Regions from separate parts of the Homo sapiens genome. Here region 2 is linked to region 1. The links are contacts of gene promoters, found by promoter capture Hi-C in blood cells and fetal thymus (Javierre and others, 2016). All regions are on one chromosome and are shown on one strand. Each heading gives the region's core, a stretch centred on a gene start or on the middle of the fragment in contact. The rest is flanking DNA. Distances are from core to core; before and after follow the strand shown.

Region 1 (3,564 bases), core at 615-3,114:
AAATACATCCATTACTAGACAACATTCAGTACAATGTACAATAAACACTACATTCAGTGTTAAACACAACATTTTACATATAGCTTAGCTATTTAATATCACCACCAGAATCTGCTAAAGGTAGCAGAATGTTTGCAAACTGGATAAAAACTGCTATGCTCAACACGAAAAGCAAAGAATCCCCAATCTTATCGCCTCATGATTTCTTTCCCCAAATTTGGCAAAACTGAGCTTGAACACCACACATTATAGAATGGAGGCATTGCTTCTCTAAGCAATAATGTCACAAACCCTGCTTCAGAGTCTCTCTTCAGTGAAAATCTCTGAAGAAGGAAATTCACTAAATTGTATTCCATCGATCAACAGGTGATTCGTGGAAACACAAACTCATATTCATTTCCAATGAAAATTAATATTGTAAACTCTCCCGTTTTTTCACATATATATATTTACAAGCTACTGCATTATTATATTGAATGAATTCCAACCGATTTCTTCTCAGAGGCTTACTAGAAAAATGCCAAATATTCAAATTATTTTGGGGCGTTAACCCATACTGTTGCATGGAACAGAACGGAATTAATAAGGATCCAACAGTTACCACTTTTCAAATGCAAATATGTTGCCATCTAGTAAATACAGCCCCTTTTTAAACATCCCTCAGTGTCTATACAGTTCAGGGCCCTACTTTTGTTTCTTTGAAAATCAAAATTCGCGCATTACATTGAGGCATTATCTCAACTCAGCAACAACAACTAAAATAGATACTAACTAGTCCAGCCTGAGTCTACATCGTACAAGACTTTTGCTTTATTTTTTCCTCCCATTTTAGACACACTGTCCCTAAACAATTCTGCCAAAGGAAACAAACCCTGCAGTGATGAAAAGAATCACGGACACTGGGTTCCACGAACAATAAGGTCGTGGGCTGGTCACCTGCCCGCCTCGGGCCTCAGTTTTCCTGTCTGTAAAATGTGGCCGCTGGACGAATCACCTATGGGGTCCCATCCGGCCCTCTCCCTCCCGGGTGCCTCGCAGCCCGCCCGGGCTCAGCTGACTGGTGCTGTGGCCAGGGTGCCCTGCCTGCCGCCGCTCTAGATGGAGGAGAAGGGGGGCGAGGGAGGAGAGGAACTTGGACTTGCAACAGCTTCAAACAGGAGCCGGCGACAAACTTGAAGCCGTCCTCCTAACAATAGGAAAGAGCACTCCCATTTTCCTGGCTCAAACTTGCGGGACCCCGCGAGGCTGGATCCTCCCAGCCGCCCTCTCGGAACCCGCTTTACCTTTCTCCCTGTTTGGTGTTAGAAGGAGGAGGGTGCAGGACCGTTTGATTCCCTTCCATCTCCACCACGCACTTGGTGTTCAGTTCCAGTTCTGAAAGCAGAGAGAAAGGGACGTTGCAAAGTCCAGCATCCGCGCCTCCAGCCCGCCCGCCCGCCAGCCGCGCCGAGCGGGGCTCCGTCCCTGGAGGCGGCCGAGCCTGGAGACGGCGCCCCGGGCACCACGGCCAGCGCGGACGCCGCCTCCGCCCCGGCCCCCCGGCCCCGGCCGCGCTCTCGCCGTCCCGGCCCCGCAGTTTCTAAAGTTGCCCCCGCCCTCAGCCCGAGCAGAAATAAAAAAGAGCGGAAAGCTCCTCACCTCGTCGGTTCATGGGCCGGACCCGGACGGCAACTTTTACCTTGGTATCCGACATGTTGGCTGCGCTCGCCCGGCCGCTCGCCGCGCCCGCTCGGCCTTAGGCGGCCCCTCACGCGCGGCGCCGCCGCCGCTGCAGCCGCGCGCCCCTCGAGCGCGGCCGCCGCCGCTCCGCCGTGAGCTCCGAGAGGCAGCGCCGAGGCGCGCGGGCCATCCCGGGGGAGCGCGACGCGGGGCACGGCCGCGGCCCGGGGAGGGGCGGGCGCGCGGGGCGGGGCGCGGCGGCGGCGGCGGCGGCGGCGGGCGGGGAGGAGGCCTCGCCGGCGGGCCCAGGCGCAGCTCTAGCCGCGCCGCCCCAGCCGAGACCGCAGCGCCGCGGCCCCTCGCGGCTGCCCGGGGCCCCGCGCCGCCATGTTCCGCGCCCGTCACCCGCCGGGGCTCGGGAGAGGCCGGACACGGCCACGCGCGGCGCCCCCTGGAGCGGCGGGACGGCAGTGAGAGGAGCGGCGAGCAGCGCGGCGCTTAGGGGAGGCTGGAGTCCGGGGCGGGACGCATTGTTTCCCCAGGGGACCTCCCAGGCCAAGCCTGCACCGGCGCCCGCGGGGCCCCCCCCCGGACACCGCCGTGAGCTCGAGCCGCCTTCTGGGGCCGCTGCCACCCGGAGCCCCGGGACGGCAGCAAGGACCACGGCTCGCCGCGCTGGGTGCGCAGGCCTTCCCCTCCGAGTCCCGGCACGCCGCCCCCTCTGTCCCACACGGAGCCTGCAGCGGTATTTTAAGATCTCTGTGGTGAACCGAGACTAGAAATGAATCTGTGAATCCACCACCGAAACAGTGTATGTTTGTAAATAGTGCTCTCCCTTCCTTTCCCGGCCTCTCTTGTCTCGGGAGGGATGTCAAGTGGGCTGGGAGGGCCATTAACTCTTACATAAGAATTTAATAGCAATGGATTCTGTCATCCTGCCAAATGCAGACCTCGCTGCCAGGGCGGAACTGGGCGAATCCGATTTATTCTGTTTGGTTCAACAAGTGCTTAAGGGGCGCTCACCGAGTGCCAGGCATTTTGAAGCGTACAGAAGTCAAAAATCCAGAGTTTAGATCCAGGAATCTTTCGATTTTGCTTAAATCTAGAAATCCACTTATTGGAAGATGCATTGAGGTTTTACTGTGTGCAGGGTGCTGTTGAGGACACACAGAAACATGAATAGCATGATGCAGAGGCACACGCTAAGGTGGAAGAGAGGGCGTGGAGACTTATTATGCTAGACAGTGTACGGCAGGTGCTAGGAGAGGGGTCCGTCCGCCTCCAACCGAGGTGATGCTACGCTTGACCCTCGAACAACACGGGTTTGAACTGCACGAGTCCACTTACACGTGGCTTTTTTTCAACCAAAATCTGATTGAAAATACAGTATTCGTGCTCTGGCACAGTGCCTTACGCCTGTAATCCCAACACTTTGGGAGGCCGAGGCGGGAGGATCACTTGAGGCCAGGAGTTCGAGACCAGCCTGGGCAATGTAAAGAAACCCCATCTTGCCAAACATAAAAATTTAAAAAATAGCCGGGCATGGTGGCAGGTGCCTGTAGTCTTAGTTACTGGAGAGGCTGAGGTGGGAGGATCACTTGAGCCTGGAAGGTTGAGGCTGCAGTGAGCCATGTTCGCACCACTGCACTCCAGCCTAGGCAACAAAGCAAGACCCTGTCTCAAAAAAAAAAAGGGAGAAAAAAGAAAAGACAGTATTTGGCAGGTTCAAAACTGAGAGATCCAACTTTTCCTATTTGTGGGTTCTGCAGAGCTGACTGTGGGACTTGAGTATGCATGGTTTTGGATGTTCCTGGAACCAGTCCCCTGTGTACACTGAAGGACAAATACTTCAGCCCCACCTTATTGTAGAGCCAGCTATCTCAGTCTACCTCTGAAGGGCCTGTT
Region 2 (3,564 bases), core at 666-3,165, 54 kb before region 1:
CTCCGATGTATGTCAAAGTTTGAGAACCACCGACACATGCTAGACACACACACAGATACACACACATAACTTTTCCCCTCCCAAATGGGGTTATGGTAGACATACTGTTTAAAATTTTACATCCATATTTGGCACCAGGCTTATATTTTGAAAATCACCTAAATATTGCATAAATACTGTATTGTATGCCCGAATGCCTTGTACATCGGTGAACAACATCACAAAATGCTTCATAGAACTAATGCAATTAAACACCAAGAGTCAGCCAGACTAAAGCATTGCTGGCTGAATAAACAAGTCATTTAGTAACGTTGCGACCTTATGAAATCCATTTTAGAAATTCTGCATAGTTGCATAAGGCTTTTAGATCTTCTTTCTAAAAAATAAGGAACATCTGCATTAGCTTCTTGATCCTGCCTGTGAATCTATTTTGGGGTTACTTAGAAACTTGCTTTTGTTTTCCAACATTCTGGCACTGAGCAAACAGTTCTCTGACCCACCAATCTGACACACCGGAACTGTCACCTCAACACCCTTGTATTTGCCTTCTCCCCACCCCACCACAGCACAGCACTACTGTACAGATTCCAGAAACGCTATGCAAGCTCCTACAGCTTGTATGCAGGCCAGAGGCCTTGACTCAGATAGCAGAGAGAGGGTTGAAGCGAGGAGGAAGTCTGTGAGAATGGAAAGAAAAAAAAAAAAAACTGGGGTAAGTGGCACCAACATCCCATGGAGATTTTGCTTAATTTGGCCAAATTATTTTTCCAGTTCTGGAATACATCCCTTTCCAAATCTCTGCCAACCCCAAGGAAATCACAATACGGTAAAGCAGAGGAAAAAGTCAAGCTTTTCATTTGCTCAAGGTCACCCAAAAAGCTTAATTAGAAAAAAAAATTAATTCACAGTAAGATAAGAATATCTAAAGTGTATCATTGTTTCTTTAAAAGAAGAGAAAGGCTCTGTGACCTCGGCCATATCCTTGAACCTTCCTGGGCCCAGTTTCTCTTCTATTAATAATGAAAAGAATGGCTGGAGAACATGAATTTAAGAGTTGTCAAGTGATGGGAACAAAGGAAACCCAAGAAAGTGCAGGTATAACATGATTTTACAGCACCTATAAAAGATGTACTGGTTGGCAATCTCTCCTCTTAACCAAGAAAGAGTGCATACCAACTGCATCTTTCTTTGTTAGAAACCTCCTGAGCTCCCTGTAGCCTCAACCTCCTGAGCTCAAGTGATACTCCTGCCTCAGCCTCCCAAGTAGCTGGCACGCACCACCACACCCAGCTCATTTTTTTTTTTTTTTTTTTTGTAGAGACAAGGTCTCACTATGTTGCCCAGGCTGGTCTCAAACTCCTGGACTCAAGTGATCCTTCTGCCTTGGCCTCCCAAAGTGCTGGGATTATAGGTGTGGGCCACAATGTTTTGGCCTTCCAGTATTCTTTGAATAAAGAAAATAATTAACTAAATGGGACATAAGAAGGAGTAGAAATCAGAATGATCAAACCAACAATTTAGATTTTTTTTTAAGTTTATTGATTTCCTGACACGGGAAAAATATTATGTACAGTTCCAAAAGCAACTACTTTAACAAGTTCTGATTCTAAGTATGAGTGAAATATAAACTTCCAATGCAGAAGCAATAGTGTGTTTCTGTGGTTCACTTTTACCTTCAACACAAAGCATTAGAAATGCCTTTCTTCTAATGGGAAATTTCAACTAGTTCGACCTGCCTGCCTAGCTCCCCACCAAAGCCTGGCACAGTGGCTTAATAATCACATTTATCTCAGCCAGCTCCTGGAGCGCCTTTCAAACATATCCCTTAGTCCTGCTTTTATCTTATTACAATGCAATGTAACTATGGAAACATAGGATTTCAAGTTATATTTTCTCTCACAGATAAAGAAAGCTGCCTTTTATAACTCAATTCAATCTAAATTGTGTCGTTAGGGTCAACTTTTATTTTTTTTTGAAGAATGCGAAAAAGTAAACATTTAAGTTGAAAAGAATAAAAAGACAAGCATTTTCATAAAAACCAGGACACAGTTTCTTCGTAATTACAAAAGGCACCTCTTTCCATCTCTCACACTACTGTCTAATGGCCACAGGACATTGGCCTTCTTCAAATTCTTAAGTGACCTGTGTGAGGTCAGAGCAGAGGGCCCGGCTTGTAGCGTGCACTTGCAGGTAGGCAAGAAAAGAAACCTACACCAGTTGCTTAAGTGCAGACGAGAGCGGCTGAACACCATCCCATTCCTAATTAGGAACTTTCAACTCTCCCTATGCTACATGCTCCCAAAGCTAAAAAGCCAAATGAAATATTCCAGCAGGTAGTATTCTAAAATCATAAATACAGAATCCCCAATAATATCATAATAAAAAGACGCCGAAGGCCAGGCACCGTGGGTCATGCCTGTAATCCCAAAACTCTGGGAGACAGAGGCAGAGAGGATCACTTGAGCCCAGAAATTCGAGACCAGCCTGGGCAACATAGGGAAACCCTGTCTCTACAAAAATATTAAAAATTAGCAGGGCATGGTGGCACATCCCTGTGGTCTCACCTACTTGGGAGGCCGAGGTGGGAGGATCGCTTGAGCCCAGGAGGTAGAGGCTGTGGTGAGCCATGACTGCACCACTGACTCCAGCCTGGGCAACCAAGCAATACCCTGTCTCCAAAAAAAAAAAAAAGACACTTAAAAATAATACTCTTGTGCTGTTTGTCATAAATATGGCCACCATCTAATGTAAAATGTGACTCAATTTTCACTAGTAATAACCAAACATATCAGTTTCACAAGGGTCCCTTTACCTTGCAGTGAGGCAGATCCTGTATTGATTTATTACTGCAATACCTGAAGCAAGTTCCTTTACACCTGTGCTCCAGGCTTCCCACCACGCTAAGGGCAACAGCAACTTCACTTGTTGGCCCAAAATAAATATTTAATAACAAAAGCTTATTTTTGGCTAGTTGTGTTATTTTCACCATTTACCTGGGGAGGGGGAGGAATACTAAAAGGCCAAAATGGTTCTCTCTCTCATGAGTGGGATTGGAAATATTTTTTTCTTATCTGTGCTTTCTATAGCTGTCCTGAATAAATGTCACAATCAGACTTGGAAGAAACACTGTCCTTGGCAAAGAATAATTCCTACTAAGGATAGGCAGTTTAAGGCTCAAGCCCTGAGCTATTTCTGCTGAGCCCCCATGGGATCAGAGAGGAAAATTCAGCACCACAGAGACCTGGCTCAGCTCAGCAGGCAGCTGGGTCCTCACTATGGTCCCTACCTGGCCCCCACCTGTTGGAGTGGCTCAGTTCAGAGAAAAACGACACATCCTGCGCTCTCTTGTCTGTGCCAAGTGATCAGAAGCTCAGTTCTGGGGCTGGGGCTGTGCAAACTATTTTTCTACAAGCAACCAAGTGACTCTAACATGTAGCCAGTGTTGAAAACCACTGCCCCAACAGATCCACGAACCTCTAAGCACCAATTTCCCATAAAAAGGAGGGGGAATTTAAATTCTCTCATAAAATGTAGCTCTCTCTCCGTAACTGAAAAGGAGGAACT

The links. Contacts are between HindIII fragments. The CHiCAGO score rates a contact against its expected background, and 5 or more counts as called.
Region 2: a fragment that was not itself captured here is called in contact with the fragment with the promoter of KIF13A in region 1 in 2 of 17 cell types (monocytes and neutrophils); the score reaches 7.7 in monocytes.

What each region holds. Positions count from the first base shown.
Region 1 is chr6:17,985,771-17,989,334 of GRCh38, forward strand. It overlaps KIF13A (kinesin family member 13A), which reads right to left and starts at 1,865. Exons shown (of 39, transcript NM_022113.6): 1 at 1,639-1,865; 2 at 1,284-1,374. The coding sequence starts at 1,693. RefSeq lists silencers at 1,451-1,570, 1,941-2,440. The HindIII fragment of the contact is 11,131 bases long and covers 1-3,564 here.
Region 2 is chr6:17,932,111-17,935,674 of GRCh38, forward strand. The region is part of intron 2 of KIF13A (kinesin family member 13A); the gene reads right to left. Among named protein-coding and RNA genes, the nearest start is that of KIF13A, 54 kb to the right of the region's middle. RefSeq lists a silencer at 2,061-2,245. The HindIII fragment of the contact is 2,077 bases long and covers 878-2,954 here.